Regions from separate parts of the Homo sapiens genome. Here regions 1, 2, 3, 4, 6 and 7 are each linked to region 5. The links are contacts of gene promoters, found by promoter capture Hi-C in blood cells and fetal thymus (Javierre and others, 2016). All regions are on one chromosome and are shown on one strand. Each heading gives the region's core, a stretch centred on a gene start or on the middle of the fragment in contact. The rest is flanking DNA. Distances are from core to core; before and after follow the strand shown.

Region 1 (3,742 bases), core at 896-3,395, 1.8 Mb after region 5:
GGCTCACTCCTGTAATCCCAGTGCTTTGGGAGGCTGAGGCACGTGGATCACCTGAGGTCAGGAGTTAGAGTCCAGCCTGGCCAACATGGTCAAATCCCGTCTCTACTAATAATACAAAAATTAGCTGGTCGTGGTGGTGCACGCCTGTAATCCCAGCTACTCTGGAGGCTGAGGCAGGAGAATCGCGTGAACCTAGGAGGCAGACGTTGCAGTGAGCCGAGATCATGCCACTGCACTCCAGCCTGGGTGACAAAAGTGAAACTCCGTCTAAAAACACACACACATACTCCTACACAACTGTCTCTAGGACTGGCTTGCAGGTGAGAAAAGTTCCTTGGGGGAAAAAACCGAGGTTTCCAATGGGCGCTGTACAAAGGCTGGGTACAACAGAGGGCTTTTAAAGCTAGTAAGGACAAATTCAATTAATAAGGTGGTAGTATGAAATGCCCCAGCTGTACTCTGACTCTGAGATTTAGAGGAAAACCGATTTCAAATCCAGATAAGCTTGGAGCTTCTCAGATCCCTACAGAAAGACACACACTGTACTCCAGCCTAAGTGACAAAGCAAGACCCTGTCTCTAAAAATAGAAGAAAAGAAAAGAAAGACAAATACAGGGGCCTCTTAGGAGAACCATCATCATCATGGATAAGAAAGGGATAGTCAAGTAATGTGAACATGCAGAGACCATGAACATCCAGAGACCATGAATTTGAGATAAGGGTCTGAAATTCCTTTCTTTAGCAGAGATGCCAACAATTATCCCAACCAAAATGATCCTTTCTCCCCATAAAGTTTTGTTCCATCTCTTTGGGCACTTCCTAGGACACCCAGCACACAACTTGGGGTGTGTGTGTTTGTGTGTACTCAAGGTGAATAACACACAGTACAGCCCTCTGCTTGTCGGACTTGGTAGAAGACAAAATGAACTGTGAAAGGAACACAATAAATAACAGAGTATCATCCCAGAAGGGAAAACTGTAGAAAGAATAAGACTAGAGTTTGATGAGAACATGAAAACACAATTGCCTTTTGTGACACATCCCCCAAAGCAAAGCAAGATTAGTCTGATTTGCTGTCTCTGATCCTTGACCTTCCTAAATGAAATATGAATAAGGTATGTGTGGGAGGATTTATACTTCTTAAACTGCTGTACACCTTCCATATTTTAAAATATGTACATATTAACTTTTGTAATTAAGAAATGTAGTGATGGCCGGGTGTGGTGGCTCACGCCTGTAATCCCAGCACTTTGGGAGGCCGAGGTGGGCGGATCATGAGGTCAAGAGATTGAGACCATCCTGGCCAACATGGTAAAACCCTGTCTCTACTAAAAATACAAAAATTAGCTGGGCGTGGTGGCGCACGCCTGTAGTCCCAGCTACTTGGGAGGCTGAGGCAGGAGAATCTCTTGAACCTGGGAGGTGGAGGTTGCAGTGAGACTCCGTCTCAAAAAAAAAAAAAAAAAAAAAAGAAATGTAGTGATAAAATATATTGGTAGAGACGCAGAAAAGGAGGAAGTACAGTAAGGGAAAATCCAATAGGCTCCAATCTATGAGGGACTAAGAAGGCTAGCAGACCATTAAAAATATGTGGGGAGGAGGGTACTCCACTCCTCTGCTTTGGCAATCTTTGTCTTTTTTTTTTTTGGAGACAGGGTCTCATTCTGTTGCCCAGGCTGGAGTGCAGTGGGAAGATCATGGCTCACTGCACCCTCGAACTCCCGGGCTCAAGTGATCCTCCTGTCTCAGCCTCCCAAAGTGCTGGGATTACAGGCGTGGGCTACTGCACCTCTGTATCTTTTTCTCTACTCACCATCTTCCCCAGATACTTCATAGTTTGACCCAACTTTCTAACAGCACAGAAATCTGGGCTTTTGAAGTAGACAAAGAACAAGGGGTGATGCCAAGCTTTTGAAATGGAATTTCTCACTCTTCCCCAAATCTCTTCCTCAGTGATATCACCGCATAGTTTCGGACCTGTTAACTCCATTACCTGCCTGGGAAATACCCAAGTCAAGTCTAAGTCCCACAAAAGTTTCACCAACTATGATCAGAAGATCTCCTGATGGCTGAGGATCTCTAAGCCCCTTTCCCATGTAGATAATGAAATAGATATGAAATAGATTCTCAGTTCTAGGAGACATGGTATTTGCTATAGACCACATTATTAAGTGGGAAAGAAGTGGACAAAACATGCCCCCAATCCAACTTCTTAGCTCTTTCATAGGACATGAAACAGTAAGTTAAGAAACAGACTGCAGTATAGACCAGCTATGAGGCCAACAGAAAGTGTAGGGGCTGAGTTTGGAGCAGCCAACAGTCATGGAAAAAAAAAAATTACTTTGATCTTCATCCCTACCCTGGGAGTTTTAAAAAGCTTCAAATTACCACATCTAAACACTAAAGGGAACAAAAGAGTGTGTACTCCCAAGACCCAGAGCCCCCAGCCCACCCTTCAGCATTCCCAGAAGTTCCCATAACTGATACCAGGCCCTGCTTCCATTACTTCAACTACCTTAGTCTTCTAGATTAATACAGCCTTCTTCATTTTCCCCAGTTCTCCCTCACTGAACCCAAATCTCTCTCAGCTCAACACCATAGCACCCTCAGTTCTTTTTACAATAGGCACTTTCCCTGAAAAGAACGCTTCTTACCCAACTAAGAACCCTTCTCAGGCCCTTCCAATGAACCTCTCTGCAGGGACCCAGCCCCAGTCACCCCCGGGGCTCGGGCGACAGGTCTGACCCTCCTCACCTCCCGGCAAATGGGCTTACCTCACCCGCTGCCCTGTTCCTTTCCCCAGCTCCTCCCTCTTCAGCGCTGCTTAATGAGGCCTGCCCCTGCCCTCACTCAAGCTCCAGGCCTCCAGCCCCCGGCCCTCGGCCTGGCCGCCGCCACAGCCCAGCCGCCTTCCCGACTCACCAACTTCGGGGTCCCAGGCCGCCCAGTCCCCTCCTCAGCGACCCCCATTAGGCCTGCCGGGGCCCGGCCCCCTTCTCCCCTCTCCGGTGGGCCACTCTAACCCCTCGCTTAGGACCAGACCCGCCTCCGCTCTCAGGCCAGGCTGCTCTCATCTCCCGGGCGCTTCCGCCCCTGCCCTTTGGGCTCCATCAGCTCGGTACCTGGGGCTCCGTCTCCCCCGTCGGCCCCAAGCCTGTGTCGAACAGACAAACAGCTGCAGCTCAACCAAACCCTCCTGCCCCTCCTTCTCCTCCTCGCCCTGGGGCGGGGCTCCAGCCAATAGCTCGATTACCCGCCTACCTTCGAGGGTGGGCTATATGTGCACTCATCCACCAATCCTCTGGAGAAAGGCGAGTCTCTTTGGGCGCTGTCACCAACAAGTACGAGCAAGGGACGCGACAGGCGGGGCCACAAGCCAATAGCGAGGGAGAAACCTCGAAGATGGACGAGGTAAGGAGCCATTAAAGAGCAAGCTCCTGAAGACAGGGGGCGGTACACTGCCGACAGGCGTATGTATCCACCAATAAAATCTCGACACCCCATGACCCCGCCTTTTGACTCATAAACATCTAATCAGGTGAGTGATGGAGGCGGGTCAAAGTGAAACTTTAACCAGTACTGCGAAAATACGGTACTTGACTGGCAGGCAAGGAGGGGTTGAAGGAAGCCTTAGGAAGGCCGCTACTGACCTTCGCCCCTCCCCCTGGACTTGGCTGGGGCTGGCTCTAGTGCCCTGCCTTCTATGACAAATTCGCGGGCGTAAAGGGAAATACCTCTTCTA
Region 2 (3,810 bases), core at 639-3,138, 1.3 Mb after region 5:
ATACATAAATGGAATATTACCTGTAAAAAGGAAGGAAATTGTGACACATACCACAACATGGATGAATCTTGAGGACATTATGCTAAGTGAATAAGCCAGTCACAAAAAGACAAATACTGTATGATTACATTTATATGGGGTATTTAGAGTACTCAAATTCACAGACGCAAAGTAGAAGGATAGTTACCAGGGGCTGATGGGGGTGGGGTGGAATAGGCAGTTGTTTAATGGGTATAGAGTTACAGCTTTGCAAGATGAAAAAGTTCTAGACATAGGTTGCACAACAATGTGAATATACTTAACACTACTAAACTGTACACTTAAAAACATATATATATTTTTTTGAGATGGAGTCTCCCTCTGTCACCCAGGCTGGAGTGCAGTGGAGCTTGATCTCAGGATCTCAGCTCACTGCAACCTCCGCCTCCTGGGTTCAAGCAATTCTCCTGCCTCAGCCTCCTGAGTAGCTGGGATTTCAGGCGCCTGCCACCACGCCCAGCTACTTTTTGTATTTTTAGTAGAGATGGGGTTTCTCCCTGTTGGTCAGGCTGTTCTCAAATGGCTGACCTTGTGATCCGCCCGTCTTGTGATCCGCCCGTCTCAGCCTCCCAAAGTGCTGGGATTACAGGCATAAGCCACTGCGCCTGTCCAAAAATATTTAATATGGTAAATTTTATATGTGTTTTACCACAATGTATAAAATTTTTTTGAAAGCAACATACAAACTAGTGCAAATTGATAACAAATAGAATATACACATGCTAAGGTGTGGGATAAAGGAGTAATTTGATGAATCAGAAAATAAATGGTGAGTTTATTGTAGATATCAAGTGTACAATATCTTGTTTTCCACTAAGGTGGCTGGAAAAAGAGCAGCGTTGCTACTCTGTCCCCTCCCCAAGCCTGAGTATTCCTTTTCTCTTTCTACAGGTGTACTGGGTAGGCCCAATCATTGGAGGGGGTCTGGGCAGCCTCCTGTACGACTTTCTTCTCTTCCCCCGGCTCAAGAGTATTTCTGAGAGACTGTCTGTCCTCAAGGGTGCCAAACCCGATGTCTCCAATGGACAACCAGAGGTCACAGGGGAACCTGTTGAACTGAACACCCAGGCCCTGTAGAAGCTCCAGCTGAATAGAGGGAGTAGAAAGCTTCTGAGTTTACGTGGAGGGGTTTAGCCAGCCCCTAGATGAAGAAAGAGACTGTGGGGAGGGTCATGTACTTCTTTATTTTTTAACTTATGTATGTGGTTGTTTTTTTTTTTTTTTTCCTTTTGCTGTGTGAAATCTTTCAAGTTGCATTCATGAGCTGGTTGGTGCAAACTTCCCTTCCTCCCCATCCCACCACCCTTCGCCGTGTGTGCTGATTGTGCATATGAATGTGAGTGTGGCTGTGTCTGAGTTTTGGGGCATGAGAGCTAAGGAAGCAAAAAGAGGTGCCATCCTATACCTCCCTTCCTCGACCCAGTATGGTGAGTACTGGGTAACCGACACCTTAAGTTTCTGGCCTTTACCCTGCTGCCAGTCAAGTGTGTGGCTCTTGATTTCTGAGGGAACAGAGAAGCAGGGAGTTACTCCTCACACGAGGCAGATGGAGAGAAGTGGAGGAGACAAGGCTTCCAAGGGTTAGGAGAAGGGACTCAAGGGAGGTGGGTGGTGAAAACGGAGTATTAGCCCCAGATCAGGATGTAGGTGTACCGAAGAATTGGGGGGAAGTTAATGGGAATATATAGCCTACTTATCTTAGGGATGCTTGCCCCAGGGACTTGGGTGGGGAAGTAGCTCTGAGAAAAGTGAACACTAGGATTTAGCTGTTCTGTAAAGCCACGTAAACCTGTCTACATCCGCTGGCTGGTTGTGTTCATTCTGACATAATGGATCTCTTCAGAGGTCCTGGGCCAAAGAGCTTCCAACCTAAATAGAGCTTGGGCAAGCCTAGAATCTAGAAAAATTAAGCAGCTTAACTGGTCAGCCTGACATCCACTGTTGTGGCTGCCTGGCAGATGGTATTTAAGCCCCACAATTGTTCCCTAAGGCCAACACAGGAAATCTGATTCCTGGAGCAAATAAATGAACGGGTGGTAGTAGGGGGCATGAGGGGAGAGGCTTTGACTCTGTTCTAATTTATTTAGAGCAAATCAAAACACTCCTCAAATGGCATCTTTCTGCTTTTATCACTAGTTCCGTGTTTTTTTTCTTGTTTTGTGTCTGTGTATTTTCATTTCTCTGTCATCCGTCCTTTCATCTTGAAGCAAATCTCTTCTAACTCCCTCATACCCCAGAAATTGATTCCTTCTATTCAAATGCTTAATAATTCAGGAGATTATTATTTGTTTGAGCCCTATCTTCTTTTTTTTTTTGAGAGGGGGTCTTACTATGTTGACCAGGTTGGAGTGCAATGGATATTCACAGGCACGATCATCGCACACTACAGTCTAGAAATCCTGGGCTCAAGCGATCTTCCTGCTTCAGCCTCCCCAGTAGCTGGGATTACAGGGGGCCAGAGCACAGCCCTATTTTCTTTTCCTTTTGGCAAGATCATCTCAGCAGAGGCCAGAAGAGACCCTCAACTGTTCAATGAATATTTACGGTTGCTTTCTTCCTTTTATGAGCCTCTTGCATACTTTGAAAGCTTTAAATTTATACCTATAATACAACGGACATCCCCTATCCCAGAAGACCATTCCTCCCTGTACTTCAGCTCTTTACTTCCTCCCAAATAAAACCTAACTTTTCTAACTAACTATTTAAGACTTGGAATAGTCCGCTTGACTAGAAGAAGGGGAAGAATGTTTGTAAATTCACCTCTAATCGGACTTTGATTCTACTATAATTCAGCAGAAAATTCATAGCGCTGTGATTTTTAGATCGACCTCACATAAAACAGTCCCTGCACTCGCTTCCCTTTTCCTTCCTTCTTCACCAATCTCCGCCCCAGTTCGCTCGGAGTCACGTGGACCAGCCCGGCTCGCCCCGCCTCGCTCTTCGCGCAGGCGGGGACCGGTCCAGCTGAGCCTGGTGGCGGAAAGGCTGCGGCCCCGCGCCAGAGGGCCGGTGGCTCCTCCGGGCTTCTGAGGACCCGCAGGGAGCGGGTGAGTGAGTGTGTGGCGAGAGGGCGCTAAGCGGACACGGGGATCCTTTCGAAGCTATGGGGGCATTCTCGGGAAACGCTGAGTCCCTTTTCCCGCCACCCGGTTTAGAGCCAGGGGGCGGGGCTCGTGCTGCAGGCGCGCACGCGCAATTCTGTACTCTGCTCCTTAGTCTCCCGCGCCGCGTTCCCGGGTCTCACCGGACGCGGGCTTAGCCCTACGCTGCTCCGCACAGCTTGGGTCTCCCGCGGGATGGGGTTGTGATGGAAAGGGGCTTGGAATTCCTGAATTAGAACAGAAAGTGCCTGAGGGAGTTCCACTTCGGAGCTTAGCATCTAGTTGAGACCTCCTGAAAAAAACCGGTGTGTGGCCTGGCGGTCAGCAGTGGTCGGAATTCACAGGCCGCTTTACTTATATCGTGGGTTTTATGGAACGGATTTCTCACTCCCTCCCTTCGTTGCCTTGTTCGGGTTTGTCACCTGGACCTCAGCCGCTAATGAAGCTTTTTTCCTTGAGCCTCTCAATTCTTTGCCATTCGTGCTTCGACTAGTACTTTCAATTTTTTATTTATTTTATTTTATTTTGAGACGGAGTCTCGTTCTGTCGCCCAGGATGGAGTGCAGTGGCGCCATCTCGGCTCACTGCAACCTCCGCCTCCCGGGTTCAAGCGATTCTCTTGCCTCAGCTTCCTGAGTAGCTGGGATTACAGGCGCGCGCCACCATGCCC
Region 3 (3,847 bases), core at 1,258-3,757, 1.6 Mb after region 5:
TTCAGAAACTTCATTTCATTTAATAGCAAGTGGGGCTGTTATTGAGGCCACTGTTCTTGGGGACTGGCCCGTGATAGTGTTATCCCTTTCTATACAGGGGTTTTAGAGTCTGACAATAGGGCAAGAGACTGATAGTGTTGTTGGCTGATAGTTTTGCCCCAAATAAGAATGTAGTGGACTAGTGGTAGGGAATGTGAGTGATGCAATGTTAAGCCGACCGACCTGTGGCTAGCCCTGCCTTCTAGTAAAAAGAAGGAACAAGCTTTTGTCAAGCATTTCCTCTCCGACTCTCAGTACTCTAAATTTATTTTGCATTCTTGTTTTTTTTTTTTTTTGAAACGGAGTCTCACTCTGTCACCCACGCTGGAGTGCAGTGGCACAATCTCGGCTCAGTGCCACCTCTTTCTGGGTTCAAGCGATTCTCCTGCCTCAGCCTCTTGAATAGCTGGGATTACAGGTACCTGCCACCATGCCTGGCTAATTTTTTGTATTTTTAGTTGAGATGGGGTTTCACCATGTTGGCCAGGCTGGTCTCAAACCTCTGACTGTAGCCGGGCGCGGTGGCTCACGCCTGTAATCCTAGCACTTTGGGAGGACGAGGCGGGCGGATTGCCTGAGCTCAAAAGTTCGAGACCAGCCTGGGCAACACAGTGAAACCCCGTCTCTACTAAAAATATAAAAAATTAGCCGGGGCATGGCTGCATGCACCTGTAGTCCCAGCTACTTGGGAAGCTGAGGCAGGAGAATTGCTTGAACCCAGGAGGCAGAGGTTGCAGTGAGCTGAGATTCCACCACTGAACTCCAACCTGGGCAACAGAGTGAGACTCTGTCTCCCCACACCCCCCGCCAAAAAAAACAAAACAAAACCCTGACCTCAGGTGATTGGTCCATCTCGGCTTCCCAAAGTGCTAGGATTACAGGCATGAGCCACTGCACCCAGCCTTATTTTGTATTCTGTTGCTACAAATAATCTTACTTGAGGATAACAGTATTCAGTATCCTTTCATATTTATTTATTTATTTATTTATTTATTTATTTATTTATTTTTGAGACAGGGTCTCACTCTGTCACCCAGGCCGGAGTGCGGTGCTGCGATCTCTGCTCACTGCAACCTCTGCCTCCTCGGCTCAGTTGACCTTCCCCCTTCAGCCTCCTCAGTAGCCGGGACTACAGGCACTCACGCCATCATGCCCGGCTAATTTTTGTATTTTTTGTAGAGACAAGGTTTCACTATGTTGCCCAGGCTGGTCTCAAACTCTTGGACTCAGGTGATCCACTCACTTCGGCCTCCCAAAGTGCTGGGATTACGGGTGTGAGCCACTGCGTCCAGCCTCCTTTCGTATTTATTATTTCATTTGATTTGCAGACAGTATGTATAAGGGGTGCGCGCGTGTATATACACATATATACACACACACACATATATACACCTTATATTACGCCGGGCGCAGTGGCTCACGCCTGTAATCCCAGCACTTTGGGAGGCCAAAGGTGGTGGATCATATGAGGCCAGTTTGAGACCAGCCTGGCCAACATGTTGAAACCCTGTCTCTACTAAAATATAAAAATTGGCTGGGCGCGGTGGCTCACGCCTGTAATCCCAGCACTTTGGGAGGCCGAGGCAGGCAGATCACGAGGTCAGGAGATCAAGATCATCCTGGCTAACGTGGTGAAACCCTGTCTCTACTAAAAATAAAAAAAAAAAATTAGCTGGGCGTCCTGGCGGGCGCCTGTAGTCCCAGCTACTTGGGAGGCTGGGGCAGGAGAATGGTGTGAACCTGGGAGGCGGAACTTGTAGTGAGCCGAGATCGCATCACTGCACTCCAGCCTGGGTGACAGAGCCAGACTCCGTCTCAAAAAAAAAATAAATAAATAAATAAATAAAATAAAAATTAGCCTGGCATGGTGACACATGCCTGTGATCCCAGCTACTCAGGAGGCTGAGGCAGGAGAATTGTTTGAACCTGGGAAGTGGAGGTTGGAGTGAGCTGAGGAGATTGCATCACTGCACTCCATCCTGAGCGACAGAGGAAGACTCCATCTCAAAAAAAAAAAGAAAAATAGGCCAAGCATGGTGGCTCACGCCTATAATCCCAGCACTTTGGGAGGCCGAGGCGGGCGGATCACAAGGTCAGGAGATTGAGACCATCCTGGCCAACATGGTGAAACCCCGTCTCTACTAAAAATACAAAAATTAGCTCAGCATGGTGGCACATGCCTGTAGTCCCAGCTACTTGGGAGGATGAGGCAGGAGAATCGCTTGAACCCGGGAGGCAGAGGTTGCAGTGAGCCAAGATCGTGCCACTGTACTCCAGCCTGGCGACAGAGCAACACTTTGTCTCAAAAAAAAAATAACATATATATATATAATAAATATGTATATATTATATATACCTTATATTAATATATAAGGCAGGTATCATTTTCCCTACTTGACAGTTGAAGCAACAGAAAAACTACAGCAGGGTTACTTGACTTGTTTAAATGTGTAGATTTGGGGGTGGGCGCAGTGGCTGGTGCCTGTAATCCCAGCACTTCGGGAGGCTGAGGTGGGAGGATTGCTGGAGCCTGCCCAGGAGTTCAAGACCAGCCTGGGCAACATGGCAAAACCCCATCTCTACCAAAAATACAAAAATTAGCCAGGCATGGTGGTGTGTGCCTGTGGTCCCAGCTATTTGGGAGACTGAGGTGGGAGGATTGCTGGAGCCTGCTGGGAAGGCGAGGCTGTAGTGAGCTATGATCATGCCACTGTACTCCAGCCTGGGCAATAGAGCAAGACCCTATCTCAAAAAAATAATAATAATTTATGTGGGCCAGGCGCGGTGGCTCACACTTGTAATCCCAGCATTTTGGGAGGCTGAGGCGGGTGGATCACCTGAGGTCAGGAGTTCGAGACCAGCCTGGCCAACATGGTGAAACCCCGTCTCTACTAAAAATACAAAAATTAGCCGGGCATGGTGGTGGGTGCCTGTAATCCTAGCTACTCTGGAGGCTGAGGTAGGAGAATCACTTGAACTCGGGAGGCCAAGGCTTCAGTGAGCCAAGATCGCGCCATTGCACTCTAGCCTAGGTGACAGAGCGAGACTCTATCTCGAAATAATAATAATAATTTATGTGAAAGCACTTTGGAAACATTAAAGCAGCATCCCCAGCCTTTTTGTGGAAGATAGTTTTTCCACAGATGGTGGGCGAGGGGATGGTTTTGTGATGGAACTCTACCACCTCAGATCATCAGGCATTAGATTCTCATAGGGAGTGGGCAACCTAGATCCCTCGCATGGGCAGTTCACAATAGGGTTCATGCTCCAATGAGAATCAAATGCCGCTGCTGATCTGACAGGACATGGAGCACAGGCCTTAATGCTCGCTTGTTTCCTGCTCACCTCCTGCTGTACGACCCGGTTCCTGATAGGCCACAGTCTGGTACTGGTCCATCTGGGGATTTGGGGACCTCTGCATTAAAGCATCATCCTGTACACATAATGTATTATGGATCTATGCATTTTGCTTTTTTTTTGAGTCAGAGTCTTGCTCTGTCGCCTAGGCTGGAGTGCAGTGGCGCGATCTTGGCTCACTGCAACCTCCGCCTCCTGGGTTCAAGCAATTCTCCCTGCCTCAGCCTCCTGAGTAGCTGGGATTACAGGCATCTGCCACCATACCCGGCTAATTTTTATATTTTTAGTAGAGATGGGGTTTCGCCATGTTGGCCAGGCTCATCTCCGACTCCTGACCTCAGGTGATCCACCCGCCTCGGCCTCCCAAAGTGCTGGGATCACAGGCGTGAGCCATCGCAACCTGGATCTATGCATTTTGTAGTCACAGATTTGGAATCATTATTACTGGTAG
Region 4 (3,696 bases), core at 507-3,006, 1.7 Mb after region 5:
TATCCCCACATACACGCAAAGACTAGATGAAATTTATAGGCATCAGGGACAAGAAGGTAGACAGAATTGCTGACTCGAAGCCGATGCACTGTTAAATGTTACCGCATTCCTTTCTCAGACACTCTAATTAGGTGTTAGGAATCTCAATCTATATAGACTTATTTCCTCATAAACAAGTGCATAAGCCAAGGAAACTTAATCTAAGGTCCCTGGGTTTCATTTCGGGGGATCATGGCTTATCTAAAAGAAATATGAGGCCAAAGTTATAAACTGTAAGAGATTTTCTGATTCAAACCACTAGTATCTCAAATACTAAAAGGCACCAAAAACCAGGGTACGATACTAAATGTCCACTGTGATATAAAGCACAGGTTTGACTTTTGGTATCTCAGTTTTGGTGATTCTTTGAAAGCTGGTAAAACTCAGATTTTCACCCACAGGACGGGAGGCATCCTAAATACCTGTTCCCCACCATCTTTGCTGTTAAAACCATTTAAAAGCACAATGACAAGCAGTTTGTATCTCCCTAACTGGAATAAAATGGAAAGGCTAACTGGAAAGAGAGAAAAGAGAAAGTGGCATCTGCCTAGAGTGACAGGCAACTGCTGAGATCGTCAGAGCACACCTGGAGTAAGGATGACTTGTGAAAATCCTAAAATCAGTCCTCCCTTTTCCAGTAATGTTCACAAGCTTGCCTAGTTGGGATAAGACGGAGACCCCAAAACATTTGAGTTGTCAAGTCACTGAGAACAACAAATGTGAATGCTAACTAAGACTATCTGCACAGATTGGAAAGGTGGTAGTAATGAGTAACTTCAAGAAAAGCCATATATATCTCCAAGACTTGCATTAGAAGCTCCAGGAGTGCTCTCCAACGGTCTCCTTAGCTGGCCCAAGGTAGAAGGGGGCCCCCACCAGGGTAAGAGCTGAAGTAAAGAAGGAAAGGCTCCAGCAAAGCACGTGGTGGGGAAGCTGGTGGTGGGGAAGCTGGTGTCAGGGACACTAGCGGAGTAAGAAGGGGGCCAGCCATCCGCAATGGGACCCAGCAACACGTGCCGGCTTGGCTCCTGACGCCCCGGAGACGCTACAAAAACAGAGGGGCACTTCTGTCGCCAATAGCTGGGCGCTTCCTTTTCGAGGTGGCCTCGCCGCTGCCAGAATCAGAGGAAGCAATAATCGGGAATGAAGGATAGGAACAAGAGAAAACACGTCTTGCCTCCTAACAAACGGCCTCGGGTCGGAGCCTGCCAGGGTCCCCTCTCTGCGCTCATCCTGGTCGCCGACCCGCACCTCCATAGACTTCAGCCTGGGCCTGCCCGCTCAGGTCCCAGGCGCGACACCGGGTCTTCCCACCACGCCGTGCCCAGCGGACCGGTGCGGGCCCCTCAGTAGCTCAGTCCGCATGACCCCTCCGCTCCAGCCCCTTCCGGGCCAGCCTGTTACCTTTCCCTATCAGCCTTGATTCCCCGACCCCCGAGGCCGCACTCACTGTTGGCGATGTCGCCCCCCATCTTATACTTGGTCACGACCAGGTCCTCAGCGATAGTTTGCTCCTGTTGCTCGTCCTCGCCCGACATCTTCCTACTACCACCACTGCAGCCTCGTTTCCCCTGAGCCGCCGCCGCCTCTGTCTCCCTTCCCAGCCACAGGCTGTGGTCAGAGTCCCCTCGATCCTCGAGGAGAGGGCGAGCGAAAGCGCGAGCAAGCAAGGGAGCGGGCAGGCAGGCGAGAGCGAGAAGCTGCGAGCGCGCGGGCTGAGGCGCAGGGCACGCTGGGACAACTAGTCCTCTCGGCCGCCAGACTCTAGCCGCTCTCGAGGGCCTTCGAACTACAATTCCCAGCCTGCCTCTCGCGCTCCTAAGCCAGGCCCTGGGGCCTTGCCCTCCAAGGGCCTCGCACGCCGGAATCGCCGGGCACTCTGGGAAGGGTCAGGCTCCGGCGGGAAGGCGGAGCCGTTGGGGAGCTTGAGGGGAAGCGTGGTCTCTCCCGGAAAAACCACTTCCACCGAGAACGCTGAGCGAGAGCCAGTAACAGAGAGGGGCGGGCTGAGGGGAGAGGGGCGGAGCTACGGCGGGGAAATAGGTTTAAAGTCGAGCGGGCAGGGGTGGAGTAGAGTGGAGCCGCAGCGGGTGGGCAGTGTCTACACCTAGGTCGGGGAGGCTGGGTGCGCCCTTCTTCGGATCCCTGGGTCGGCTGGCGAAACCCGCCCAGCCGGTCCAGTCGTCCTCCGAAGCTGGGAGAACAGGGAGGGGCAGACAGGTGGAAGAAGACCAAGGGTGCTGGTAACGGGGGCTAACTGGGCAGCCAGACACCGGAGGGATCATCCATTTAAAGGCCTCGCAATCTAGAGGCCGGACTCCTAATGAAGTAACATGACTTTATTGTTCCAATAACAGGCACCTGGATGGAGCACCTAAGGGAAGTGTTCAGAAAGACATGTTTGTTGAGAGTTCTTACCGTGAAAAAATAAAAAGATTTGATGACTTTTCTAAGATAATGAATTCAGAAGCATCTGGAGGTTTCAGTGTTTGGCCTCTGAAGGAGGGCTTATAGGGCTTTTTATAAGTCCTAAAGCACGTAGGTTCTTTTTGTTATTCCCAATTGGTTGCCTTGTAGATTCCTACTAAAACCCTTAATGAAAAGGACTATGCGCTATGGTTGTTCTAAAGAAATAGAAGTAATAGTAGGACTAGAGAAAGCTGCATGGGACAGAGTAGCACTGTCAGAACACAGAAAGGTGAGTATCCACTGCTGAGGAGCAGATCTCTTATCTAACATACGAAATGTCTTCATTTGACAGACAGGAAGCTGAAAAAAAACTTTGGCATTTTTATTCAGACACGTATAAAAACAAAACAAAAAACTTCAGTGATACAACAGACGTTTTCCCTTAGTTCCCCATCCAAGGGGACAGAGGTGTGCAGCTGAAGCTGGATCTTTTTTCTGTCCTACCTGGAAGCTTCTCACTGCTGGATGAGAATGGCTTCTAAAAGTGGATCTTGGGGATCCTTGTGAATTTGCCCTCGGATAAGGAGTGAAGATCATTTACGGCACATGTGGATTATGGTTTACACAAAGATGTCCAGTTATTTTTCCTTCTGACTACCCCCACCACCACTTCCTGAGATGAGATGTCTAGGTATAGGAGGATGTGGCTGTTGGGGTTAGACTTGATTCAGTGCAAAAACAAGAAACAGTGCCCCTTAAACAAGGGCTGTAACTTAAATCAGTTTTTCTTGGCACCTTACAATAAGAGCACATGCACAGGAATTGGGAGGATTTTGCATCCTGGATCTACTGCTTAATTTATTTCATCTCTTTAAGGCTCAGTTTCTTTTTTTTTTTTCCCCTGTAGAGACAGTGTCTTGCTATGTTTCCATAGGCTTATCTCTAATTCTGGGCTCAAGTGATCTTCCCATCTCAGCCTCCCAAAGTGCTGGCTGGGATTACAGGCATGAGCCACTGCACCCAGTTCTAAAGTTTTTTTTTTTTTTTTTTTTTTTTTTTTAAAGAGATGGGGGTCTTACTATGTTGGCTAAGCTGGTCTCAAACTCCTTGCCTCAGGTAATCCTTCTGCCTCAGCCTCCCAAAGTGCTGAGATTACAGGCATGAGCCACCATGCCCGACTTCCCTTTGTGTAAAATGAGATAATATGTATGTCACAGAATTGTTTTAAGGATGATAAAGGACTAAGTG
Region 5 (3,915 bases), core at 20-2,519:
TGAGTTTTATTTCCTGCCCTCCCCAATCACCCACCCTAGGTGCTTTGACAGGCAATTCGCGCTGTCTGGCACGCAGAAGCAGACGCCAAAATAAAAACAAAAACAAATTTTAAAAAAAAATTTGTTAAAAAGAAGGGGTTAGACTGGGCCCAAAGTTCTCCCCTCTCCCCCAAAGATCCACGAAGTGACCATTTCTCCGCGCCCCTGGGTCCCCACTCTCTCCCGTAAAAAGCCAGCTCACGCACCCTGCAGCGCTGCCAAGATCCCCACGATGCCTGTCCCCGCACCCAGTTCGATCACCTTCTTGCCTCGGAAATCCACATTTTGACTCTCGAAATAATTGCACAGGCTCAGGGCCTACGGGAGAAAAGACAGAGAAAAAGACAGTCGTGAGGATGGCTCCATATGGGAGAGGCGGAGTCCGGGATCTGGACCTCCCACGGACCCTCACCCGGCGCAGCCCATTCCTCACCGCGTCCCACACGCGCGCCGCCACCCCGAGGCGGGACCCAAAGTTCTGCGTGATGGTCAGCACATGCCCACAGAAACAGAACTGGCTCTTCTCCGAGTAAGAGTCTGCAAAGAGCCCGACCTCCCGCGGGAACACCGATTCCGACTCAGATTCGGGATCTGGGCCGGGGTCCGCCATCCGGCCCGCCAAGGGAGTGCCTGGGCACCGCGGCCGGCGCTCAGATCCCGGATCCGGAGCGGGGTAGAGGCTGGGGGCCGCGAGCCGTCGTGGTGTCCCTGTGGAACGAGCCCCGCCTCCCTGAGTTTGCCCTCCTTCCTCCAGTTCGATTTCCTGGAGGTGGAATGAGGAGCTGCCCCTCCCGCCCCGGCCCCGAGCGCACACTCGACGAAACCCACACGGGACCACAAGAGTCAGACCGGGCGGACTGGTCCGAGACCAGGAGTAAGGGGACAGGAGCGAGGACTGATGCCACTGTAGAAGGCGAGGTCTCTAGACCCCTCTCACCTGTGGGGTGCACAGGTGCCTGCAACCAGGATGGTAACCCAGACCAGGCAGAAGCAAGCTAAGAGAAAACGTTGGGTCCCTGGGCCTGGCCTCGCCCTCCCAGTTGGAGGCTAACGGTGCGGAGGTTCCCTCCAGCACTCGCTCCTTACAGCCCTCCCCACCTAGCCCAGCCCAGCCCAGCCCAGCCCAGCTGAATTTGCTCTTGGGTCTTTAAGGGGCGGGAACTGCCACCAACGCGCATGGCTGCGTCATTAACTTGCGCCTCTGGCCTGCGCCTCCACGTGGATTTGGTAGAGAAACCCCGGACTGGGATCATGGCAGCCGAGACTCGGAACGTGGCCGGAGCAGAGGCCCCACCGCCCCAGAAGCGCTACTACCGGCAACGTGCTCACTCCAACCCCATGGCGGACCACACGCTGCGCTAGTGAGGAGTGGGCAGAGGGAGAGAGAGGAGGGCGGGATTCTCAAAGCAGCCGGGAGAGCAGTTGTGCTGCAACTGCTGGGAGGATTTGGGGTAGACCCGGGAGGATCAGATGGGTGACGTCAGTTTTTGGGGGTGGGACCGGGAGATTCGACCGAGAGAGGAGTTGGCGGGTTGAGAGTGGGCGTGGCGTTCGGGCCTAAGTCTGGGTAGCGGTGCTAAGTTTGGGAAGAGAAATAAATTGTTACTGAGACTGAAGTGATAGAGGCAGAATGTCGTTTCCATCTTTTGCTTTTGTTTGTTGGATTTAATAAAAAGGCAAACATATACACAATCCTGCCCGCACCTTACCTTACCTTCCCTCCCCGCAGAGCACAAACACAAAGTAGGATCCCAGTGCATTAGGCAGCCAGTCTCGGGAGAAGGGGAACTTGTGCCCCAGAAAGGGCAGTTACCCGGCCAGGGTCACATCAACCGCCAGAAGTGGAGTTGGGCAGGTCAGCGTTTATGGGCCTCATGATGGTCCTATGATTCACACTGGGAGTTAAGGGTGGTTTCCATTGTCCCTCTTAGAGGCCACAGGGCCCAGTGTTACAGAATTTTTGAGAAACCCTCCTCCCTTTTACCTCCCACCCTCACCCACCCACACACTCTCACAGTACCACTTCTGCAATGGTGTGACCAACCTTCTCATGCTTCTTATGTCTTCTTTCCAATAGCCCTGTGAAGCCAGAGGAGATGGACTGGTCTGAGCTATACCCAGAGTTCTTCGCTCCACTCACTCAAAATCAGAGCCACGATGACCCAAAGGATAAGAAAGAAAAGAGAGCTCAGGCCCAAGTGGAGTTTGCAGACATAGGCTGTGGCTATGGTGGCCTGTTAGGTAACACTCAGGCCCTCTTTTTGGGGTGAGAAGAGGCCTAGTAGCTTCTGCTGCCTCAGCAACTTTTGTGGGGGGTCATAATTGGCCTTTCCCCTTTCGTCCAGACACTGGTGACATCAGCATGGAGAGGCTCCACCTACCCTCTACTCTGGGTCTGTGACCTTTGCCCTGGAGAGTGGAGGGGGCTGCCTCAAATGCTTCTTAAAACCTGGGTTGTCCTTTCTGGCGTCAATCCCTACATGAGCCATTTCATCTGCCAGGTTCCGGGTCAGTGAGCTGGTCAGCACAAGCATCAGAGATTAGCCGTTGTGGCCAGTGATCCTGAACTGTCTTTTCTCAGAGATTCTACCATCTCCCCTCCCCTTTGCCCCTCCCTCGCCAGATCTCATTCCTTCTGCCCCACTCTCCTGTTTTTTGGGTTCCTCTTGTATTGTCTGTATTGTCCCACCCATGCATGCCAAGCCACTCCCTATTTTTAGATCTTCCCAAACAGATAACAGCCTGATAGAGAAGAAGAGCATGGTACATAGAGGCAGAAAACCTTGGTTTAAGGTCCAGTTCTGCCTGGGCACAGTGGCTCACACCTGTAATCCCAACACTTTGGGAGGCTGAGGCAGGTGGACCACTTGAGGCCAGGAGTTCAAGACCAGCTACTCAGGAGGCTGAGGCAGGAGAATTACTTGAACCTGGGAGGCAGAGATTGCAGTGAGCCAAGATTGTGCCACTGCACTCCAGCCTGGGTGACAGAGCAAGACTCCATCTCAAATAAATAAGTTCCAGTTCTGCCCCTTCTTAACTCTATGATCTTCGGCATATCTGACCCTCAGTTTCCTTATCTTCACAATTTACCACAGAGTGTTATAAGGATGAAATAACACAATGTGTGAAAACACTGTGGAAAACTCTAAAGCAATGGCAAATATACATGTATCCTCAGCCCTCCCATTCTGGTCCTGGTGACAATTTTCATTTCTCCCCCCGCCTCTTGAGCATAAAACTATCCATATATGTATCTCTGTCCTCTCTTGCCGTTCTGGACTTTGGTAGTTGCAGGTTGAGGCTTCCTTTCCTGTGTTGACCCCTTTGCACTTCCTACAAGTATATGGTTGATGATTCCATTGCTATTTCTGTGTGCAGTGGAACTGTCACCGCTGTTCCCAGACACACTTATTCTGGGTCTGGAGATCCGGGTGAAGGTCTCAGACTATGTACAAGACCGGATTCGGGCCCTACGCGCAGCTCCTGCAGGTGGCTTCCAGAACATCGCCTGTCTCCGTAGCAATGCCATGAAGCACCTTCCTAACTTCTTCTACAAGGGCCAGGTGGGGAGGGGCCCTGGTGGGTTAGGCTGGTAGGCAGGTGGGGGCATGGAGGCCAGGCTCTCACAACCCTGTTGGTGTGTGTCTGTCTCACAGCTGACAAAGATGTTCTTCCTCTTCCCCGACCCACATTTCAAGCGGACAAAGCACAAGTGGCGAATCATCAGTCCCACCCTGCTAGCAGAATATGCCTACGTGCTAAGAGTTGGGGTGAGTTGGGATCGGAGGGATGATGGGGTGAGTGGCCTACTCAGGGGCCCTTCACTAAGAATTCAGTGGGGGTGCATTTAGGGACTCACACCACCACTTCCTTCAT
Region 6 (3,845 bases), core at 756-3,255, 2.0 Mb after region 5:
ATATTTGGGAAAAACAATTCCAAGGTTAAGATTATCTCTGTTCCATTTCATATCTCGGGTGGGCCCTGCATCTCCTGGTGTTACCATTGGCTGACACTGAATCACAGAAGCTATTTTAAATTGTCTTATGAGACTCTTGGTAGTTTTTTCACACTTAGATATATAAAAAAGTTAAAAAAATATATTAAAAAGAAGAACATTTTAAAAAGTATTTTCTTTTAGGGTAAATTAAGATATCTTGAGTAATTGTCTGTTTGTGGTTTCACAAGTAGTTTTCCCATTAGATGTTTTGGACAAACCAGGCTGATATAGCTGAAACTGAAAAGTGATCCTTTAAAGCTCGAAAAGTTTTTTTTTGTTTTTGTTGCTGTTAAGAAAGCTTAAGGGTAGTAAGGGTAGGGAGAGGACCCTTCTTTAGTCACTTATTAGTTGACCCCAATTAGTCTTTCTGTGAAACTGATGTTTTTCTTACTCTTGGATTCTAAACTCTGTTAGTGGGTTTTTGTGTTATTCTGGAGTTATTGTTAACTTGATGATACTGAAATGCATAGACTATATCAGCGGTCTCTTGATCTTTATTGTGATGAGTTAAAAAAAATTGAGCAATCATCTCCACTTTGTTTATATATACTGTACTTATAGAAATTGTATACTTCTGGACTGTTATAAAATATAACACAGAAAAGGAATTTTTGAATGAGATAAAAAGGAACTATATATAGAAGAGCTAATATTTTCTTCCTATTTGTCCTATTTTTGAAATCCCTGGAGTAAGTCACCAGCTGCCCGATGACTTACTTGCATTTATAGATTGTGTTGGTTTATGGAGTTCCTCCTTCCATCAAATCTGTATTTGTCAGGTCTATATAAAATTTGTATTTGATTGGATAAGTAACTTTTACGTAAAGTCCTCTGACCTGATTTCAGTGTTACAGTCTAAGAGAACATTAGGCACTCCTGACAGCCTAAAAAGGACTTGCTCTTTAATCACATTTGCTTGTCTTTGCTTTTTCTCTAGAGCACTTCTTAACCTTTTGGAGGTCACAGATATCTTTGAAACTCTGATGAAAGGTATGGACCCTCTCCCCAGAAAAAGGCATGTACACATATTTTGCATGCAGTTTGAGGGGCTTCATAAAACTACCTTGTAGCCCCGAGGAGTCCATGGACCTCTGGTTAAGAACTCATGCCTTTAGCTGGGCGTGGTGGCTCACGTCTGTAATCCTAGCACTTTGGGAGGCCTAGGCGGGCGGATTGCTTGAGGCCAGGAGTTCGAGACCAGCCTGGGCAACATGGCGAAACCCCGCCTCTACCAAAAATGCAAAAATTAGCCAGGTGTGGTGGCAAGTGCCTGTAGTCCCAGCTATTGAGGAGGCTGTGAGGAGGCTGAGGCACAAGAATCGCTTGAGCCCGGGTTGGAGGTTGCAGTGAGCCGAGATGGTGTACTGCACTCCAGCCTGGGGGACAGTGAGACTCCGTCTCAAAAAGAAAAAAAGAACTCATGCCTTTGATTCTGATTTTTAGGACAATTAATGTTTGGTTCCACTGGTGATCTTGATGCAATGATCCTGACTTCTGGGTTGACTTGGGGTTTTATTGCCTTAAAAAAAAATCTTGGCTGGGTGCAGTGACCCACACCTGTAATCCCAACTCTTTGGGAGGCGGAGGCCAGGAGTTTGAGACCAGCTTAGGTAACATAGTGAGACCCTGTCTCTACAAAAAAAATTAAAAAATTAGCTGGGCATGGTGGCACACACCTGTAGTCCCAGCTCCTCAGGAGGCTGAAGTGGGAGGATTGCTTGAGCCTGGGAGGCCAAGGCTGTGGTCAGCTGTGTGATAATTGCTCCACTGCACTTCAGCCTGGGTGACAAAGGGAGACCTTGTCTCAAAAAAAAGAAAATAAAAAAATCTCTCCATTGTCATAAAGAGAATTTTGGGCTTTGGTATGGAACCTCAGGGGAAGGGAATACCTTTTGAAGCAGGAAGGAAACATAGTATGTATCTGAGTTGATATGTAATGTCATATCAACAGCAAATTTCTGAGGATTTTGTAGAAATGCAGTCATTCTTTTTTTTTTTTTTTTAAATTGAGATGGAGTCTCGCTCTGTCGCCCAGGTTGGAGTGCAGTGGCAAGATCTCGGCTCGCTGCAACCTCCGCCTTCCAGGTTCAAGCAATTCCCGTGCCTCAGCTTCCCGAGTAGCTGGGATTACAGGCACGTGCCACCATGCCTGGCTAATTTTTGTATTTTTAGTAGAGATGGGGTTTCACCATGTTATTGGTCCGGCTGGACTTGACTGACCTCAGGTGATCCTCTTGCCTTGGCCTCCCAAAGTGCTGGGATTATAGGCATGAGCCACCACTCCTGGCCCATACTAACACATTTGGAAAGAGAGATTGAACTGTGGATGAAAATGGCTTGAACTGTAACAGTATCAGATATCCAGTCAAACATTAGAAAAGGAACTATTGCAGAGGAGAGGAGAAAGTGATAGTAGTGTCAGAGTGTTGAGAATAGTGAGACATTTGTATTGAAAAGTGAAGTGAGGAAATATATTGGTAGTTGAAGATAGTTTGGAAAGGAAAATAGGTAAACTATAAAGGTAAATCAGAGTGATATTGAAAAGGGCTTTCTAAGTTATGTAAGGACTTCTGGCCTTTGTCATGTAAGAAGTAGGGCTGGGAGCCTTTGGAAGTTTGAAAGGAGGAGCTTGATGTGATCAGCTTGTATTCTCTTGGCGGATGGGATTTGTAGGGGGAGCGATTTCACCACTTAGATATTTATTATAGGAGTCATTCCCCTGCTTAAAACCTTTAAATTATATCCCTGCCCGTCTCTCCAGCATAGTTACTAACTCTTCAACTACTGTGGCCTTATTTTATTTAATTTCTTCAGAATGCTTCATCAATTGCCAACACTTAGCATTTGTTATGTGGCAAAGCACTGTTTGAAGCCATTTACATACACTAACTGATTTAATTCTCATAATAACCCTGTAAGGTAAATACCTGTATTATCCTCATTTGAAAATAAGAAAAACCATAGCTCAGAGAGAGTAACTGAGTAACTTGCCTTAGGTTGCACAGCTAAAATGTTGTATATTAAATCCAAGCAGGCTGGGTGCAGTGGCTCACGCTTGTAATCCCAGTACTTTGGGAGGCCGAGGCAGGCGGATCACCTGAGGTCGAGAGTTCGAGACCAGCCTGACCAACATGGAGAAACCCCGTCACTATTAAAAATACAAAATTAGCTGGGCGTGATGGCACATGCCTGTAATCCCAGCTACTCGGGGGGCTGAGGCAGGAGAATCACTTGAACCGCGTAGGTGGAGGTTGCGGTGAGCCGATATGGCACCATTGCACTCCAGCCTGGGCAACAAAAGTGAAACTCCGTCTCAAAAAAAAAAAAAAAAAAAAAATTCCAGGCAGCCTGTGTCCAAAATTCATGTTCTAATCATTGCACACTGCTTCTCCCTCTTACCTCAACCTAGAACCTTCACATATGCTGCAATTGGAGTTTTCTTTCGGCTGTAGTACTCCGGCTGCCCTTCCTCCCTAACACGTTTATCTAATTAATTACTACACCCCTTTCAGGTGTTTCACTCAAATATTATTTACCCAAGGAAGCTTTCTATGTTCTATCCACAAACATGGTCAGGCCACTTTTTATATAATTTCATAAGACCCTGTGTGTTCTTAAAAAATCAGCTAAACATGCCGGGCACGGTGGCTCATGCCTGTAATCCCAGCACTTTGGGAGGCCAAGGTGGGCAGATCACGAGGTCAGGAGTTTGAGACCAGCCTGACCAATATGGTGAAACCCCATCTCTACTAAAAATACCAAAA
Region 7 (3,788 bases), core at 1,188-3,687, 1.8 Mb after region 5:
ACCAGCCACTTTGATAATATCCTCTTGCTTTCTTTATTCATTTTGATTTTCTATACTAAGCAGGCACTTCTGTTGTCTCTAATGATGGGTATGATTAGAGATGTTTTCTTGGCTTCCGCTTCTAGGCCACAGCATGTTGCTAGAGAAAAAGTACAGAGCTATCAGATTCAATATAACTTAACTTCTGCCAAGATCATGGCTTCTAATTATTTTTTTCTTTTTAAAAAAATTTTTTGCTGGGCATGGCGGCTCACGCCTATAATCCCAGCACTTTGGGAGGCCGAGGTGGGTGGATCAACTGAGGTCAGGGGTTCAAGACCAGCCTGACCAATATGGTGAAACCCCGTCTCTACTAAAACTACTAAAATTAGCTGAGTGTGGTGGCATGGTGGCGTGGGCCTGTCATCTCAGCTACTCGGGAGGTTGAGACAGGAGAATCGCTTGAACCCAGGAGGCAGAGGTTGCAGTGAGCTGAGTTCGCACCACTGCACTCCAGCCTGGGCGACAGAGCGAGACTCTGTCTCAAAAATAAATAATAAATAAATATTTAAATTTATTTTTTATGTTCTTCCATAGCTGTTTCCCCAACCTTTTCCAGATCTGTGTGACCATCCCTTTTAATTCTCCTTCTTTTGGCAGAAGACTTCATTTTTATTTCACTGAAAACTCAAGGCCTATCATTTTTGTTTCCTTTTTCTTCACAGCCAGATTTTGTTTGTTTCTTTCTTTTTTTAAAAATGAAGCGATGCAGACTTGCTATGTTGCCCAGGCTGGTTTTGAACTCCTGGCCTTAAGTGATCTTCCCACCTCAGTCTGCCAAAATGTTGGGATTACAGGTGTGAGCATGCACCTGGCCCCAGATTTCTCGAATATGAAGAAATCTCCTGATATTTCTGTTTCCTTGCTGCCTATTTGTTCTTAACTCTTTGCAGTCATTATTTCTAGCACTACCCTCTCTCGAGTTGCCTATGCCTTTTTCTAATTGTTTCGTGAATATCTTCACTCTTGGATATACTGTTATACCTCAAATCCAACCTGACCAAAACCAGTATCAGTTTTTCCATCACTATTTCTGTTAAAGGCACCATTATTCTAGCCAACCCAAGGTAAACTTTTGTATCGTTTCTTTTTTTTTTTTTCTTTGAGACAGAGTCTCACTCTGTCGCCCAGGCTGGAGTGCAGTAGCGCGATCTCGGCTCACTGCAACCTCCGCCTCCCTGGTTCAAGTGATTCTTCTGCCTCAGCCTCCTGAGTAGCTGGGATTACAGGCACATGTCACCACGCTTGGCTAATTTTTGTATTGTTAGTAGAGACAGGGTTTCATCATATTGGTCAGGTTGGCCTCGAACTCCTGACCTCGTGATCTGCCAGCCTTGGCCTCCCAAAGTGCTGGGATTACAGGCATGAGTCACCACGCCTAGCCATTTCTTTTTTTAATATTCTAAATATACTTGATTTTTTAGAACACTTTTAGATTTATAGAAAAATTGAGAAGATGCTACAGAGATTTCCCATATACCCTACACTCAGTTTCCCCATTACTGTCATCTTACGTTAATATAGTACTTTGCTTGCAATTAATGAAGCAATATTGATATATTACTATTAACTAGAATCCATACATCATTTCATTAGTTTTGTTTTTTTTTTTTTTCAGACAGGGTCTTGCTCTGTCACCCAGGCTGGAGTGCAGTGGTGCAATCACCATTTACTGTAGTCTTAACTTCTGGGCTCAAGTGATCCTCACATCTCAACCTACTGAGTAGCTGGGACTACAGGTACACACCACCACGCCTGGCTAATTTTTGTATTTTTTGTAGAAATGCGGTCTTGCTCTGTTGCCCAGTCTGATCTCAAATTCCTGGGCTCAAGCAATCCTCACGCCCTGGCCTCCCAAAGTGCTAGAATTACAGGTGTGAACCACCATGCCTGGCTGATTTCCTTAGTTTTTACTTAATTTATTTTTATATTTATTTATTTATTACTATTTTTTTGAGACGGAGTTCTGCTCTTGTTGCCCAGGCTGGAGTGCAATGGTGAGATCTCAGCTCACCGCAACCTCTGCCTCCCGGGTTCAAGTGATTCTCCTGCCTCAGCCTCCTGGGTAGCTGGGATTACAGGCATGTGCCACCATGCCCGGCTAATTTTGTATTTTTAGTAGAGATGGGTTTCTCCATGTTGGTCAGGTTGGTCTCAAACTCCTGACCTCGGGTGATCTGCCCACCTCGGCCTCCCAAAGTGCTGGGATTACAGGTGTGAGCCACTGCGCCCAGCCTTTTTACCTAATTTTTTTTTGTTGTTCCAGGATCTTATCCAGGGTACTACATAACATTTAGTTCTCATGTCTCTTTAAGCTCCTCTTGGCTGTGACATTTTCTCAGGCTTTCCTTGTTTTCCATGACCTTGAGTTTTGAGGAGTACTGGTCAGGTATTTTGTAGGATATCCTTCTATTGGAATTTGTCTGATGTATTTCTCATGATTAGATTTGGGTTATGTGTTTTGGGGAGGAAGACCACAGAGGTAAAGTGACATTTTCATCACATTGTATCAGGGTACATAGTATCACAATGATTTTTTACTGTTAATATTTTTGTTTTTTTGAGACAGGGTCTTCCCTCTGTTGCCCAGACTGGAGTGCGGTGATGCCATCATGGCTCACTGAAATCTTGACCTCCCAGTCTCAATTGATCCTCCCACCTCAGCCTCCTGAGTATCTAGGACCACAGGCGTGTGCTATCATGACCAGCTAATTTTTTTTTTTTTTTTTTTTTTGGTAAAGATGGTCTCACTATGTTGCCTGGGCTGGTCTTGAACTCCTGAGCTCAAGGTATTGTTCCCCTTTGGCCTACCAAAATTCTGGGATTACTAGGCATGAGTCACTATGCCCAGCCTGTTAGTATTGACCGTGATCATCTGGCAGAGATATTGTTTGTAAGGCTTCACTGTAAAGTTAGGCTTTACCCCCTTCCTTTCCATACTGTAGGGAAGTCACTATTGCCAGCCCACGCATAAGGAGTAGAGAGTTGTGCTCTCCTTAAAAAAAGAGATTAAGGGCTGGGCATGGTGGCATATGCCTGTAATCCCAGCACTTTGGGAGGCTGAGGCTGGAGGATTGCTTGAGGCCATCCTAAGCAACATAGCAAGACCTCTTATCTACAAAAAGATTTAAAAAAAAAACGAGCTGGGTAAGGTGGCACACACCTGTGGTCCCAGCTACTCAGGGAGCCTCAGAGGGGAAGATTGAGCCAGGGAGGCTGAGGCTGCATTGAGCCGTGATTGTGCCACTGTACTCCATCCTCAGTGAGAGGCTGTCTCAAAAAACAATTAAAAAAACACACTATTTGGCATTTTTCTGCCCAGGAGATTTTTTTCTTTTCCTTTATTAATTTATGTATATCAATATGGACTTATAGATGTGTATTTTATATGTTAGGTTATAATCCAATACTATTTTATTTGCTTTATTGCTCAAATGTTCCAGTTTTGAACATTGGGAACTCTTTTAGTTTTTTACTTGGCCCATCTCCCTTTGACATTTGCCATCATTGCAGGTATGATTTTGTTCTCTGCTCCAGTCCTGCGGTCTGCCATTTCTCCAAGAAGCCCTTGTTCTTTTTACTAAAGAGTAATGTTAAAAACTAAGATCTGATCACTAGGTGTTTTTATTTCTATGGGAGTATTTTTTTTTATTTATGGGAGTTTTATTTTTTTATGATTATTTTTATTATCATCTTTTACTTCTCTCTTGCCCTCCTCATGTATATCAGTTATCAAAATATCATTCTTT

Evidence for each region. The method cuts DNA at HindIII sites, captures the fragments that hold promoters and counts their contacts. A CHiCAGO score of 5 or more calls a contact.
Region 1: a contact is called between a fragment that was not itself captured here and the fragment with the promoter of METTL1 in region 5, in 1 of 17 cell types (monocytes). The highest score is 6.6, in monocytes.
Region 2: a fragment that was not itself captured here is called in contact with the fragment with the promoter of METTL1 in region 5 in 1 of 17 cell types (monocytes); the score reaches 5.1 in monocytes.
Region 3: a contact is called between a fragment that was not itself captured here and the fragment with the promoter of METTL1 in region 5, in 1 of 17 cell types (monocytes). The highest score is 7.8, in monocytes.
Region 4: the fragment with the promoter of PA2G4 here is called in contact with the fragment with the promoter of METTL1 in region 5 in 1 of 17 cell types (monocytes); the score reaches 5.5 in monocytes.
Region 6: a fragment that was not itself captured here is called in contact with the fragment with the promoter of METTL1 in region 5 in 1 of 17 cell types (monocytes); the score reaches 7.8 in monocytes.
Region 7: a contact is called between a fragment that was not itself captured here and the fragment with the promoter of METTL1 in region 5, in 1 of 17 cell types (monocytes). The highest score is 8.3, in monocytes.

The regions. Positions count from the first base shown.
Region 1 is chr12:55,973,520-55,977,261 of GRCh38, reverse strand. RAB5B (RAB5B, member RAS oncogene family) reads right to left here and starts at 3,184. Exons shown (of 6, transcript NM_002868.4): 1 at 3,123-3,184. RefSeq lists an enhancer at 3,291-3,440. The HindIII fragment of the contact is 469 bases long and covers 1,911-2,379 here.
Region 2 is chr12:56,448,586-56,452,395 of GRCh38, reverse strand. TIMELESS (timeless circadian regulator) reads left to right here and starts at 2,970. Exons shown (of 29, transcript NM_003920.5): 1 at 2,970-3,086. MIP (major intrinsic protein of lens fiber) reads left to right here. Exons shown (of 4, transcript NM_012064.4): 4 at 931-2,894. The coding sequence ends at 1,116. RefSeq lists enhancers at 3,227-3,316, 3,427-3,546, 3,569-3,810. The HindIII fragment of the contact is 1,480 bases long and covers 1,149-2,628 here.
Region 3 is chr12:56,217,219-56,221,065 of GRCh38, reverse strand. All of the region lies in intron 1 of RNF41 (ring finger protein 41), which reads left to right. Among named protein-coding and RNA genes, the nearest start is that of RNF41, 2.8 kb to the left of the region's middle. The HindIII fragment of the contact is 4,486 bases long and covers 265-3,847 here.
Region 4 is chr12:56,102,619-56,106,314 of GRCh38, reverse strand. PA2G4 (proliferation-associated 2G4) reads right to left here and starts at 1,756. Exons shown (of 13, transcript NM_006191.3): 1 at 1,490-1,756. The coding sequence starts at 1,577. It overlaps ERBB3 (erb-b2 receptor tyrosine kinase 3), which reads right to left. Exons shown (of 28, transcript NM_001982.4): 28 at 2,810-3,696. It overlaps LOC105369782 (a long non-coding RNA gene), which reads left to right and starts at 1,896. Exons shown (of 2, transcript XR_944995.4): 1 at 1,896-2,027; 2 at 2,397-2,501. RefSeq lists enhancers at 1,482-1,701, 1,712-2,061. The HindIII fragment of the contact is 2,269 bases long and covers 693-2,961 here.
Region 5 is chr12:57,769,459-57,773,373 of GRCh38, reverse strand. METTL1 (methyltransferase 1, tRNA methylguanosine) reads left to right here and starts at 1,269. Exons shown (of 6, transcript NM_005371.6): 1 at 1,269-1,400; 2 at 2,117-2,280; 3 at 3,418-3,602; 4 at 3,696-3,809. The coding sequence starts at 1,291. It overlaps EEF1AKMT3 (EEF1A lysine methyltransferase 3), which reads right to left and starts at 760. Exons shown (of 3, transcript NM_015433.3): 1 at 473-760; 2 at 246-357. The coding sequence starts at 649. RefSeq lists enhancers at 596-1,105, 1,236-1,525, 1,211-2,410. The HindIII fragment of the contact is 5,954 bases long and covers 1-3,915 here.
Region 6 is chr12:55,813,113-55,816,957 of GRCh38, reverse strand. The region is part of intron 1 of SARNP (SAP domain containing ribonucleoprotein); the gene reads left to right. Among named protein-coding and RNA genes, the nearest start is that of SARNP, 2.7 kb to the left of the region's middle. The HindIII fragment of the contact is 3,247 bases long and covers 382-3,628 here.
Region 7 is chr12:55,921,431-55,925,218 of GRCh38, reverse strand. The region is part of intron 1 of PYM1 (PYM1 exon junction complex associated factor); the gene reads left to right. It overlaps LOC124902941 (a long non-coding RNA gene), which reads left to right and starts at 1,448. Exons shown (of 2, transcript XR_007063325.1): 1 at 1,448-1,778. The HindIII fragment of the contact is 7,726 bases long and covers 1-3,788 here.